3 separate regions of the Homo sapiens genome follow, and all the other regions are linked to region 3. The links are contacts of gene promoters, found by promoter capture Hi-C in blood cells and fetal thymus (Javierre and others, 2016). All regions are on one chromosome and are shown on one strand. Each heading gives the region's core, a stretch centred on a gene start or on the middle of the fragment in contact. The rest is flanking DNA. Distances are from core to core; before and after follow the strand shown.

The links. Contacts are between HindIII fragments. The CHiCAGO score rates a contact against its expected background, and 5 or more counts as called.
Region 1: a contact is called between a fragment that was not itself captured here and the fragment with the promoter of XRCC5 in region 3, in 1 of 17 cell types (neutrophils). The highest score is 5.9, in neutrophils.
Region 2: a contact is called between a fragment that was not itself captured here and the fragment with the promoter of XRCC5 in region 3, in 1 of 17 cell types (neutrophils). The highest score is 6.0, in neutrophils.

The regions. Positions count from the first base shown.
Region 1 is chr2:222,632,565-222,637,143 of GRCh38, forward strand. FARSB (phenylalanyl-tRNA synthetase subunit beta) reads right to left here. Exons shown (of 17, transcript NM_005687.5): 6 at 1,827-1,977; 7 at 635-743. Among named protein-coding and RNA genes, the nearest start is that of FARSB, 21 kb to the right of the region's middle. The HindIII fragment of the contact is 6,400 bases long and covers 1-4,579 here.
Region 2 is chr2:223,937,886-223,941,923 of GRCh38, forward strand. All of the region lies in intron 1 of WDFY1 (WD repeat and FYVE domain containing 1), which reads right to left. Among named protein-coding and RNA genes, the nearest start is that of WDFY1, 5.4 kb to the right of the region's middle. The HindIII fragment of the contact is 3,092 bases long and covers 807-3,898 here.
Region 3 is chr2:216,106,767-216,111,019 of GRCh38, forward strand. XRCC5 (X-ray repair cross complementing 5) reads left to right here and starts at 2,582. Exons shown (of 21, transcript NM_021141.4): 1 at 2,582-2,691. The coding sequence starts at 2,671. RefSeq lists an enhancer at 2,306-2,927. The HindIII fragment of the contact is 16,954 bases long and covers 1-4,253 here.

The DNA of each region.
Region 1 (4,579 bases), core at 1,866-4,365, 6.5 Mb after region 3:
TTGTAAATACATTCAAACTGCCTCATAAAAATAGCCTTCAGAAAGGAATTAAGAGGGCAAAATTTAAATTAAAAGTTTTTGTTTAACTATATAACTAGGCAAGGCCAGGCACGGCAGCTCACATCTATAATCCCAGGGCTTTGGGAGGCCAAGGTGGGAGAATCGCTTGAGCCCAGGAGTTTAAGGTTGCAGTAAGCCATGACTGCACCACTGCACTCCAGCCTGGGCGACAGAGCAAGAGCCTGTCTCAAAAACAAAACAAAAAACAACAACAACAAAAAAAAAAAACAAAAGAAAAAAAACTACAGACATGACAGAGTTTGACTTTGAGTTTAACCAAGTGAATTACTTGCTAAAACCAAAACATCAATAACCTTTGAAGAAACATAATAGAACCCAAAACCTAGCATCAGAAAATATTTATAAATGTATGAGCATAAGTTACATAAGAATCACCAATAAAATGTTGTTGAATAAATGAATGAAAAGAATGATTAGAATCTACAAAAGACCTGAGATACTCAGATTATGAGTTATTTGAATTTGATTCAGCCAAGTCTATTGAGAATTCTACAGAAATGCTGAAGATTAAAAGGAAACAGCAAAGATCTGTGATGCTTATAAAATAACTCACCATTGATGATGGGAGGCATTGAAAGGACGACACCATTGCTATCATAGATAACTGGATACAGGGGTTTGTTTTCAATGATATGTAAATAATGTTTCAGGTGATTGTCAGTCTGAAAACAAATTAAGTCAAATAAAATTAGTTTTTTTTTTTAATTTCTATCACTATAGTTCACATACTGACCTAATATTAAAAAAGAAGAGAACGCCAGGTGTGGTGGCTCATGCCTGTAATCCCAGCACTTTGGGAGGCTGAGGCCGGTGGATCACCTGAGGTTGGGAGTTCAAGACCAGCCTGACCAACATGGAGAAACCCCATCTCAACTAAAAATACAAAATTAGCCAGGCGTGGTGGCACATGCCTGTAATCCCAGCTACTCGGGAGGCTGAGGCAGGAGGATCACTTGAACCCGGGAGGCAGAGGTTGCGGTGAGCTGAGATTGTGCCATTGCACTCCAGCCTGGGCAACAAGAGCGAAACTCCGTCTCAAAAAAAAAAAAAAAAAAAAAGGAGGGGAAAAGTTAGAAAAACATTAAAACAGACCCAAATTAAAGAAAGCTCTAAATTTATAAGATTTTCTAATATAAATTAATATTCCAGTATTCAATGAACACAATTGAATCATTTCTCAAGAGTGAAAACAGATTTGCACTGGTATGCCTGAATCATTTCAAAGGAAACATAAACCATGACAAAACTATTTAGATAAATACGAAGAAGTCACTTGCAAATCAGGGCAAGGATGACCCTGCTTTTTCTAAACGACACCTATTTTTTCTACTTATTAAATACAATTCAAAGTGACTACTGAATTCATTTTCGCTGCTGGACTTTTAAATAATGGGAGATAGACAGCTTGTAACAGTATTTCCCACAAAAAACACTAGCTAAGTTTTACTGTTCTTTATACTTGCATGAGTTTCAATTGAAGATTACAATGTGGTATGGTCTACTTCAGTGGTTCTCAATCCTAGCAGTACACTGAAATCATATCAGAGGTTAAAAATTTAATAATAAATAAAATAAAACTATGTTCAGGTCCCACTCTAGATCAGATGAATCACTGTCTCTAGGTTGGAGTCCAGACACTGCTATTTTTTAAAAGTATTGATTACATTTCCCTAGTTGCAAGGCTTGACTTTGATGGAATTTCATGATTTTTGCAAAGCTGCTGCATAATCAAAAAGAATATTTACCTTGTATATGTTCATCAGTTCACAGGCTGTATACTCCTTGGTCTTATTTAGAGGCTTGAATTTGATATCTGAAGGACGCTTTGCAGTATAAGTAAATGGGCCCGACAAAGTGTCCAAATCATGGGTACCAATGGCAACCAGTGCTCTTTTCCTAATTGTTGAGAGGTTGAGGGAGAAGGAGGGAGGAAAGGAAAGGAGGAGAATGAGACAGATTTGAATATTCTAAAGCCGAAATTCTAAAGATAACATAAATATAGACTACATATTTTTTTTAATTATTTCAGATACTTCCCTGAAACAGCATATTGCTACTACATGGCATCATTAGTGGCATATAATGAACAAATTCTCACAACCATTAAGAGTACTGAGAAATCACAAAACTACCTGAAATACATGATTTCAGGAGCTGAAGAAAATTCCTTGCCATTATCTTTTCCCAAATATTGTTTCTAGGATATCTTCAAAGTTAGCATTTCCTTTACCTCTTTTAACCTATTTCTTCTTGATATACTCAAGTAAACATGTTTTAATAAATTAGAACGAACTATCGAATTGTGGGTTTTTTGGCTTTTCTATGTTTTCCTAAATTTTATCACATAGCTGCATTACCTTAGTCATGGAAAAAATTTAATTTTAATTTCAACAGCTCTGAATTACAGTTCAAGTTTACTTTAATGTATAAGGAAAGTTCAAAAGGTATTCATTTCACTTGTTCTACAGTTTATCCACAAAGGATTTAAGGTAATTTTAGGAAATTACAGCAAGCAACAAAATAGGAGAGAAAGAAATAGAAGTAGGGATGTAAAACCGAGCCAGGAAATGTTAATTCTGAATTAGAATCTAAAAGCCTAAGTCTTACCAGGAAAGGACACAAGTTTGGCTTTCTAACAGTCAATTTGAAAGGAGGAACTTGGTCAAAATTTGTGTTCTTAACATTCTTTAGTTTAAAGTGTATGTGCACTAAATTAGTTTAAAATGCTTAATATTAAATTTTGGTCAACTTCTAGGACTGCAGGACTGGTGAACTACAACTTTAATAAATAGGGTTAAAAAGAATTGCTAACAGGCAATAAGGGAGTGTTACTTTACTCAATTAGTCATATGCTTACAGAAGATAATAAACCCAGAACTATCATAGGATAAAATATGCATGGTTTGATAAATGCAGGTAAATTAATAATTGACAAATGCACAGGTAAGAAAGTCTGTCTTCTTAGATATTAACATTGGTCCCTTAATCCTAAAACAGTACCTCAAAACATCACCAAAATTTCAACTTCAAATCAGCAACAAAAAAACGTAACTCCAGATGAATCAAAGACCTAAGCATTTTGAAAAGCAAAAGACAAACACACAGGCACACATACAAAAGACACCATAAAAATTATTCAAAGAAAATACAGAGGCCAGGTGAGGTGGCTCACGCCTGAAATCTCAACACTTTGGGAGGCCAAGGCAGCAAGACTGCTTGAGCCCAAGAGTTCAAGACCAGCCTGGGCAACATGGTGAGACCCCATCTCCACAAAAAATGTAAAAATTAGCTGGCTGTGGTGCCACACACTTGTGGTCTCAGCTACTTGGGAGGCTGAAGTAGGAGGATCACTTGAGCCAGGAAGGTCAAGGCTATAGTGAGCTGTGATTGCACCACTGTAGTCCAGCCTGGGCAACAAGGTGAGACTCTGTCTCAAAAAAAAAAAAAAAAAGATAAGAAAATATAGAAGAATATGCTTAGGCCGCACGCGGTGGCTCATGCCTGTAATCCCAGCACTTTGGGAGGCCGAGGCAGGTGGATCACAAGGTCAGGTGATCAAGACCATCCTGGCTAACATGGTGAAACCCCGTCTCTACTAAAAATACAAAAAATTAGCCAGATGTGGTTGGCGGGCGCCTGTAGTCCCAGCTACCCAGGAGGCTGAGGCATGAGAATGGCATGAACCCAGGAGGCAGAGCTTGGCGCACTCCAGCCTGGGCGAGAGTGCGAGACTCTATCTCAAAAAAAAAAAAAAAAAAAGAATATGCTTAAAACTGTAGAGTCAACTTCCAGGACACCACTTCTTAAGTAGGTCATAAAATCTAAAAGTCAAACAGGAAGACTGATAACTATACCCAAATTAAAAACCTTACATGTCCAAAAGAAACTAAAAGTCAAAAAACACAAAAAAAGGTTTACAACATATATACAGTAAAAAGATTAACATTCCAAATATAGTAAGATATGAAAAAACTAAAAATATTCAGAAATCAAGGTTTTATCTAACATAATGGTAAAAATTTCAAAGTCTTGCTATAATAGAGCAGCAACTGAAAGCTGAAAGAACTGAGCAGAAAACTGAACCACTGCTGAGTCTGAATCTAGCTAAGTATTCAAGTCTTTGCCTGAAAGAACAAAAACCACTCTTCAGAGAAACATAGCAAAGTCAAGACTCTTCCCTAATATGATATTCTATATGCATCAAAAGGCAATGGACATGAGAAGAAATATGGAAGACATGACTCTTACTCCAGACAAAACTAGTCCATAGAAACCAACGCTAAGATGCCCCAGATTCTGATACTGCCACATAGATTTTAAAGCTGCTACTAAAAAATGTTCAAGAATTATGGAAGAACATACACATAATAAATAGACGAGGAAATATCTGCAGAAAAGAAGGAACTATTTTTTTTAAAAGGCAGTGGATTGCAGAGATGAAAAGTAAAATAACTGAAGTAAAAGACTCACTAGGCACTTCAAGCCAAGACAGAATAAC
Region 2 (4,038 bases), core at 1,103-3,602, 7.8 Mb after region 3:
CTTCCTCCCAGGCATAACACTTAAAAATCAAGTTATTTATTTAAGATTGTTTCTATGTGAACAATTGGTAAATACACAAATTTTTCCCCAAACCATCTTAATAAACTTAGATATATCTAAGTGGAAGCAAATATATTACATATTTGGTATAATTTTTAAAAAAGGAAAATGCTAAAAAACATCTAAAAGTTGGTTTTCTGTAATCTTTACTCTTTCCCAGCCTAAGTGCAACATCTCAAAACATTTTAAATCACATGAGATTTATCTTTAACTTGGGACAAACAAAATTGAGTTTCCTGCAGAAACCAATCTTGGCCTACGAGCCCCTAATGCAACAGTATAAGTACGTCCATCCACAAACTCTATTTCTCAAAAGTGAAGACAGTAGGCCTATAGCCTTAACTTATTTATAAGGCTTTATAAAGCTTTTACCTTTTAAAAATTGTATCATTCAATCAACTGACTGTCTACATTTTTGGTGCAGTCCACAGCAAAAAAGTCCAAAAAGCAAACATACTGGTTCCTACTGTCTCACCATTTTAGTTCCGCTCTGAAAGCAGAGTCTTATTTTCTGTTTCCCCTACCAGGAAAGTCACCACTGTAGTTCAAATTCTTAAACTTAAATTTAAATTAAAGAGCTTAAGGTAATTATTACTTCAGCAAAATACTAATGACTTCATACAAGAAGTAGTACCATTTTCTATTAACCATTCACGAGACATTAATCCATAAAGGTTTCTAAGCAGAACCCTAAGCTGACCACCCAAACCACTAATGACCTGTGACTCCCAGGTGTAATGGCATTAAGCTTTGATATTCCACATTGGCTTAATACTCTTTGGAGTGCTGACCGTATCTAGCTTTGTCATATGCAGTTTGATTACAGTGAACTAGGTGGCTATCTGTGAATGACCCCAGGTAAATATATCCCAGAAGGTGACAAAAAAAAAGAGGATAAAATGTAAGCAGTATTTTTTTTTTTTTTTTGAGACAGGGTTTTGGTCTGTCACCCAGGCTGGAGTGCAGTGGCACGATCTCAGCTCACCTCAACCTCCGCCTACCGGGCTCAAGTGATCCTCCCGTCTCAGTCTCCCAAGTAGCTAGGATTACAGGTGCACACTACCATGCCTGGCTAATTTCTGTATTCAGTATTCTTTCTTGGTGGTTGTACATAGGCAAGCACAGTGACAAATAACCCTCCTTTCTTGTAGAGCCGTGGTTCTAAGTGTGGTCCCTGGACTAGCAGCATCAGCATCAACGTCACCTGGAAACTTGGCAGAAATGCCAACTCTCAGGCCCCACCTGACTTTCCAAATCAGAAACTCTGGGGGTGGGGTCCAGCAACCCGAATTTCAACAAGACCCCCAGGTGATTCTGATGCACATTCAAGTTAAGGAACCAGTGTTCTAGAGAGGCCAGATAAGTACATGAAGCCCGGACTGGGGTTTCTCAATATCAGCACTATTGACATTTGGGGCTCAATAATCCTTTGGTGTGGGGCATAACAGGATACTGAGATGCATCCCTACCCTCTACCTAGATGCCAGTATTAGTTACATACAGTATTAGTCCGTTTTCACACTGCTGATAAACACATGCCAGAAACTAGGTAATTATAAACAAAATGAGATTCAATGGACTCACAGTTCCATGTGGCTAGGGAAGCCTCACAATCATGGTGGAAGGCAGAAGACATGTCTTACATGGTAGCAGACAAGAGAGAAATAGGAACCAAGCCAAAGGGGTTTTCCCTTGTAAAACCATCAGATCTCCTGAGACTTACTCACTGCCACGAGAACAGTATGGGGGAAACTGCCCTCATGATTCAATTATTTCCCACTGGGTCCCTCCCACAACACATGGGAATTATGGGAGCTACAATTCAAGATAAGATTTGGGTGGGGACACAGCCAAACCATATCACCTCCCCCACATCATGACAACCAAAAATGTCTCCAGATATTACCAAATGTTCCCTGGGTGGGAAAACCACCCCTGGCCCAGAACCACTGGCCTAGATTTTACAAAAGTGGATACTAACTTCAGGAAAACCTTCATACCTTTCACTTTTCTTCTCAAAATGCTCTCAGCTAGTTCTCACTGCTTTTAGCGTTTGTAAAATGAATTCACTTCAGCTGGACCCTACTTTAAATGTAAAAAGCTACTGGCTCATGCCTGTAATCCCAGTACTTTGGGAGGCCGAGGCGGGTGGATCACGAGGTTTGGAGTTCAAGACCAGCCTGGCCAAGACGGTGAAACCCTGTCTCTACTAAAAATACAAAAGTTAGCTGGGTGTGGTGGCGGGTGCCTGTAATCCCAGCTACTCGGGAGGCTGAAGCAGGAGAATCGCTTGAACCTGGGAGGCAGAGGTTGCAGTGAGCCAAGATCATGCCACTGTGATGCATGCAGTAAATAAAGATTACAAACAGTCTCATTTGTTCAGGCCAAATTTTAGCACCAAACGAGTTTTCAGGTCCAATTTACACACACACATACACACTTCTGACGTTTAGAATGCACTAAATTTTGGAACTGCTGATAAGAGAAGGTGACTGTACCTACCTTATAGGGAGGAAGTGTGAGGATTGGATCCAATAACACATAAGGTCCAATTCTGTACTCGTAGAGAAAAGGGACTTTCAACAGGTTAGCTATTGTTATTTCTAAATTACAAATTCCGATCATATCATTTGCTTGTTTTGAACTCTTTGATGGTTCTACACTGCCTGCAAAATAAGGTCCAAATTCCTTATTTCTTTCTTTTTTTTTTTTTTGAGACAAAGTTTTGTTCTTGTTGCCCAGGCTGGAGTGCAGTGGCGTGATCTCAGCTCACTGCAACCTCCGCCTCCCAGGTTCAAGTGATTCTCCTGTCTCAGCCTCCCAAGTAGCTGGGACCACAGGTGTGTGCCACCATGCCCAGCTAATTTTTGTGGGTTTTTTTGTTTTTGTTTTTTGAGACAGAGTTTCACTCTTGTTGCACAGGCTGGAGGGCAATGGCATGATCTCGGCTCACTTCAACCTCTGCTTCCTGGGTTCAAGTGATTCTCCTGCCTCAGCCTCCCAAGTAGCTGGGATTACAGGCATGTGCCACCACGCCCAGCTAATTTTGTATTTTTAGTAGAGATGGGGTTTCTCCATGTTGGTCAGGCTGGTCTCAAACTCCTGACCTCAGGTGATCCACCCGCCTCGGCCTCCCAAAGTGCTGGAATTACAAGTGTGAGCCACTGCACCCAGCCAATTTTTGTATTTATAGTAGAGATGGGGTTTCACCATGTTGGCCAGGCTGTTCTTGAACTCCTAACCTCAGGTGATCTGCCTGCCTTGGCCTCCCAAAGTGCTGGGATTACAGTCGTGAGCCACCGCACTTGGCCCCCAAAAACTTTTTTTTTTTAATTTAAAAAACAAAACAAAACCGGACACTGGGTCCTTCTAGCTCTCAGTCTTCTCTGTTGCTATTGTCACTGCCCACCTTTTGCTCTGGTCACTTAGAAATAGCTATGGTTCTTTCCCTCTTACAATTCCCTCCTGTCCTTTCCTCCTTCCTCTGCCTGGGATGAGGGTGCATCCCTCCTTCCTTTCTAGATGCCACTCCTCTATCCATGAAGACCAGCTCAACGACCTTCTCTAGGAGGCTGTCCCCAAACCCCGGCCCCAGCCCAAAGAGCCTCCTCTTCCTGTGTCTTCCCAGCACTGGATGCTGAATACATAGGGGCCATCTCTTCACTAGACTGTTCAGCCCTTGGGAAAGAGCAACTTAGCTGTCAGCTGTCTCTCCCCCACAGGTCTAGCATGGGCCCCACACACGTGCTGGGATTACAGGCGTGAGCCACCTTGCCTGGCCAAGGTAGTGTGGCTTTTGACCCCTGTTGTGTCCTCAGGGCCTGACACTCAATAAAAAAGCTTTTTCTAAATGAATGAGTAAATGAGTGAAGAACGTGACACGTATTTATGACAATGTGAAAACAAACCACCATGGCTAACACCAAGAAAAAACCCACGCCCATGTGCTTTCATTACATCTCATGAAGTGTAGCACCT
Region 3 (4,253 bases), core at 1,332-3,831:
AAAATACCCTCTCCCTAGGGAATGTTAAACTGACTTCGAAGACAGTGAAAGCCTCCCATTATTCACTATTTCAGTGTTTCCTGGTTGTACCAAACAACAAACAAGTGAATTATTTCACCTTTTAAAAGCTACACTTTAAAAATGGGATAAAGTGGGATTCCCTCCTTCCTAAAAATGTTTCAGCCAGGCACAGGCTCACGCCTGTAATCCCAGTACTTTGGGAGGTCAAGGTGGGCGGATTACCTGAGGTCGGGAGTTCGAGACCAGCCTGACCAAGATGGAGAAACCCCATCTCTACTAAAAATACAAAATTAGCTGGGTGTGGTGGCACATGCCTGTAATCCCAGCTACTTGGGAGGCTGAAGCAGGAGAATCGCTTGAACCCGGCAGGCGGAGGTTGCCGTAAGCAGAATTCGCGCCACTACACTCCAGCCTGGGCAACAAGAGGGAAACTCTGTCTCAAAAAAAAAAAAAAAAAAAAAAGTTTCTACAGCTACTAAAAAACTTGCATTTAAAAATAGTTGATAAAAATATTCCTTATCAAAATAGTTGATAAAAATATTCCTCTGAGGCCAAGTGCAGTTGCTCACACCTGTCATCCCAGCACTTTGGGAGGCTGAAGCGGGAGGATCGCTTGATCCCAGGAGTTCAAGACCAGGCTGGGCAACATAGGAAGACCCCGCCTCCACACACACACAGAAACCCCACAAAAATTAGCTGGGCTTGGTGGCACACACCTGTGGTCCCAGCTACCTGGGAGGCTGAGGTAAGTGAATCGCTTGAGCCCAGGGGTTCCAGGGTGCAGAGAGCTATGATTGTGCTACTGGACTCCAGCCTCGGCCGAGCGACACCCTGTCTGTTTCTTTCCTTTTCTCTCTCTCTCTAGCTCTGGATCGTACAAGAAGGGAGACAAGGACCACTGACAAGATATGGTATGTGATACTAATCAGATTTGGCTTCTTTCTGTCCTGCTTCACCAGAGGCTGGACTCTCCTTGTTTCAGTTTCTCCGCTTTCCACAGATAAATCTTTTGTTTCCCGGATAGCCACTTGGCCTGTTTGCCCTTTGCTCCCATTTTTCCTTGTTTGCTTCTTTGTCTGAAAATTTATGCTGTCCTGCTGCCTCCGCTGGGCTTCGTTTCCACCTTTGCTGGAGGAGATTTAGCTGACAACCTCACAGATCTTCCCCGCCCCTTCTGCCGAGCTGATCTTTCTCTTGGAAATCTTACCCGCAGGGAAGGGCGAGTGTCCGTGCCTGCCTGCCTGCCTGCTGCAGCCCGCGCAAAGCTGAGCGGCCAGGGCGCTGCTGTTCCTTTAAAGTATTATTAAAAATAATATTTCAGCTTTTAAGTAACTCCTTGAGTTTGAATCAAAAGCTGGAAGAACCTCCTGGGCTCTATGAGCACCTCTGAATATGTCTGACTCTACATTCTAGAGGCTTCAATGTATTTATAATTTTGGCTCATAGATTCTCCACATCTTTTCAGCTTCAATTCTTGCTTTTCCCAGAAACAATTTTCAAGCAGGAGAGAATATTGATTGGACTTGATTTTCTCAGTTTGGGCAGAGGTTTGCAGACACTTTGCAGGTTGCCAGACCCTTCGTCCAGCCACCTGTCAGCTGGGGGTCATATGGTATAGAAAGCAGTCATTTCTATGCAAGGTACTGCTTGGGCCTGCCTCCCTCAAAGGGGTAGGGGATGCGGGCTGGACAAAGGGCTCGTGATCAAGTAAAGCACTGTGATGACAGCTGCTATTTCTATATCTCCCTAGACTTGTCTTCTAAATTAAACCTTGACTCCTCCCTTCCAAGCTGGAGCCACTGCTAACTACTGGGAGAGCCTTAGCAGATAAAGTCTCATGCCTCCAGGCGTTTGTGCATCCCATTTTCTCTGCAGAGTAGAATCTCCCTTCTACTTTTGTGCTCCTGGGGACGTCCTACTCTTCTTCCCCAGTTGGCTCTAAGGTTATCACATCGGTGAAGTGTTTCATTATCACTTTTTAGAAGAAACTGAGTCTTTTAGAGAAGTTAAGTGACTTTCTGCATTCATACTCATACTCAAGAAAATCTAACTCCACAATAACCAAAAATAAAAAGTAGAAAAAAACCCACAAGTGATGAGAAAAAAAAAAATCAAAAGTTATAAAAAATAAATGAAAAAATGAAATTAAAGGAAAAAAGATTTTTTAAAAAAGTAAAAAAAAGAAAAGAAATCTAACTCCAGAGCTCTGACACAAAATGCCTTAGGTGTTATTCTCAATGAGAGAAAAGGGACGTGAATCTTTAAGTGATTAAGTGAATCTTTAAGTAAATCTGTCGTACTAGCGTTTCAGGCGGCTCAAACACCACACGCTCCCGACTACGGCGGAATGGAGAGAATGTGCGCATGCTCGGCGGGAATCTGCGCATGCTCGGCGGGAATCTGCGCATGCTCGGAGAGAATCTGCGCATGCTCGGCCGGAATCTGCGCGAGCTCGGCGGGAATCTGCGCAAGCTCGGCGGGAATCTGCGCATGCTCAGAGTTCCGGGGCACGGTTTCCCCGCCCCTTTCAGGCCTAGCAGGAAACGAAGCGGCTCTTTCCGCTATCTGCCGCTTGTCCACCGGAAGCGAGTTGCGACACGGCAGGTTCCCGCCCGGAAGAAGCGACCAAAGCGCCTGAGGACCGGCAACATGGTGCGGTCGGGGAATAAGGTATAAAGAAAGCCATGGACTTGGGCTTTACCCGGACTGGGGATCCGGAGAGGGTGGTTCGGAAGCAGGAATCGTGGGATCGCGGTCAAGACAAAGAATGGGGCAAGAGAAGATCATGGTGGTGGGCTCAGTCAGGAGGGCCGGGACCGAGGGATGCGCTATGAGAAAAGCTGGAGATTTGGGGCTCCAAGACCTGAATTTGAGCCTCGCTGACTCCACCTCTTCCATTACCCACCCATCCCATCCCTCTTCTCCCTCTCTACCTGCTCTTTGTCTCACCTGCCTCCCCACCCGCCTCCCCTCTCTCTCTCTTTATCCCATTCCACTCCCTAGCCCCACTTCCTCTATTACTTCCGAGCCTGGGTTCTTAAGATCTCTATGAGAATGAAAATTAGCTGTGATAAAGCAACTATCCCACAGGGCTTGTTGTAAAACTTAAGAGAGGGACTATCTGTGACTAAAATAACTTAAACTGTAAAGCGTCGTATTATTAGCTTTATAATAACGTAGTATCCCGCATTTATTGAAAGCCCACTCTGTGAGGGACGGATCTAAACCTTTTATTCTTATCTCATTTAATCTTCACAACCCCTTGAAGTGAAAACTATTTATCCCCATTTTGCAAGTGGGAAAACCGAGGAATAAAGAACTGTGGGCTTTTCCTGGTGAAATCCGGATTTGAATCCAAGCTGTCTGGTTTCAGGGCCCTGGAGAACCCCTGTGTTGCTAGAAATCTATGACCATTGGTGTCCCAGATCAGTAACAGAAATTACAATGAATTTTAAAGTGATTTTTTTTTTTCAACATAAAAGAGTGGTAGTTGTCTCTGAAGGGTCACTAGAGGGAGATGTGGTTCCAGGGATTAATGAATTTATTCAATACAGATAAACAAGATACGAGTTTGAGCAACTGATCCCTAGTTCCCTCAACTCCTCATTGAGAAATGTTGATTAAAACGATCATGAACTTTTAATAATGCCACTCACCTCCTTTTTTCGTCCTCTTTCAGCTGCTGAAAACTTTGTAGCTCTAGTGGAGGAGCTGTTTGTTGCAGATGAACTGGAAGTAAAATTCTAACAGCCTGTATTGCTTCGGTATAGAAATGAAGAGTTGCTATGCTACCCGGTTTCTCTTTCTCAGTTTTCTTACTGCTGCCAGATAGGAACTCAGAAATATAGACCATTCTGCTTCCAGACAATAAGTTCCATATTTGAAACCCTTTGATGGCACTTACTGGATACCTAATTCATGACAAAAGTGCTTTAGTCCTCTAGAGTTTTCTGGTTTAAAAGTAGCTTTTGTGGGTGTGTATCAAATAAGTGCAGCAGCATATTTTGTGACTCTTAAGTTTTTTTAGGTTATCATGCCCCAGGCATTGAAACTGGGATGTGCATTTTACTGTTCTCAAAGGAATTTTGTGGTTTATTAGCACGTTTTTTTTTTCAAATAATCTAATTTTACTTCAGAAATCTCTTAGTGCATTGTGTTGTTTGTAAACTAGTGAAAAATAATCTTTTCTTTTCATGTGTTGCCTGAGATATAACCACATTTAGAAATCATCT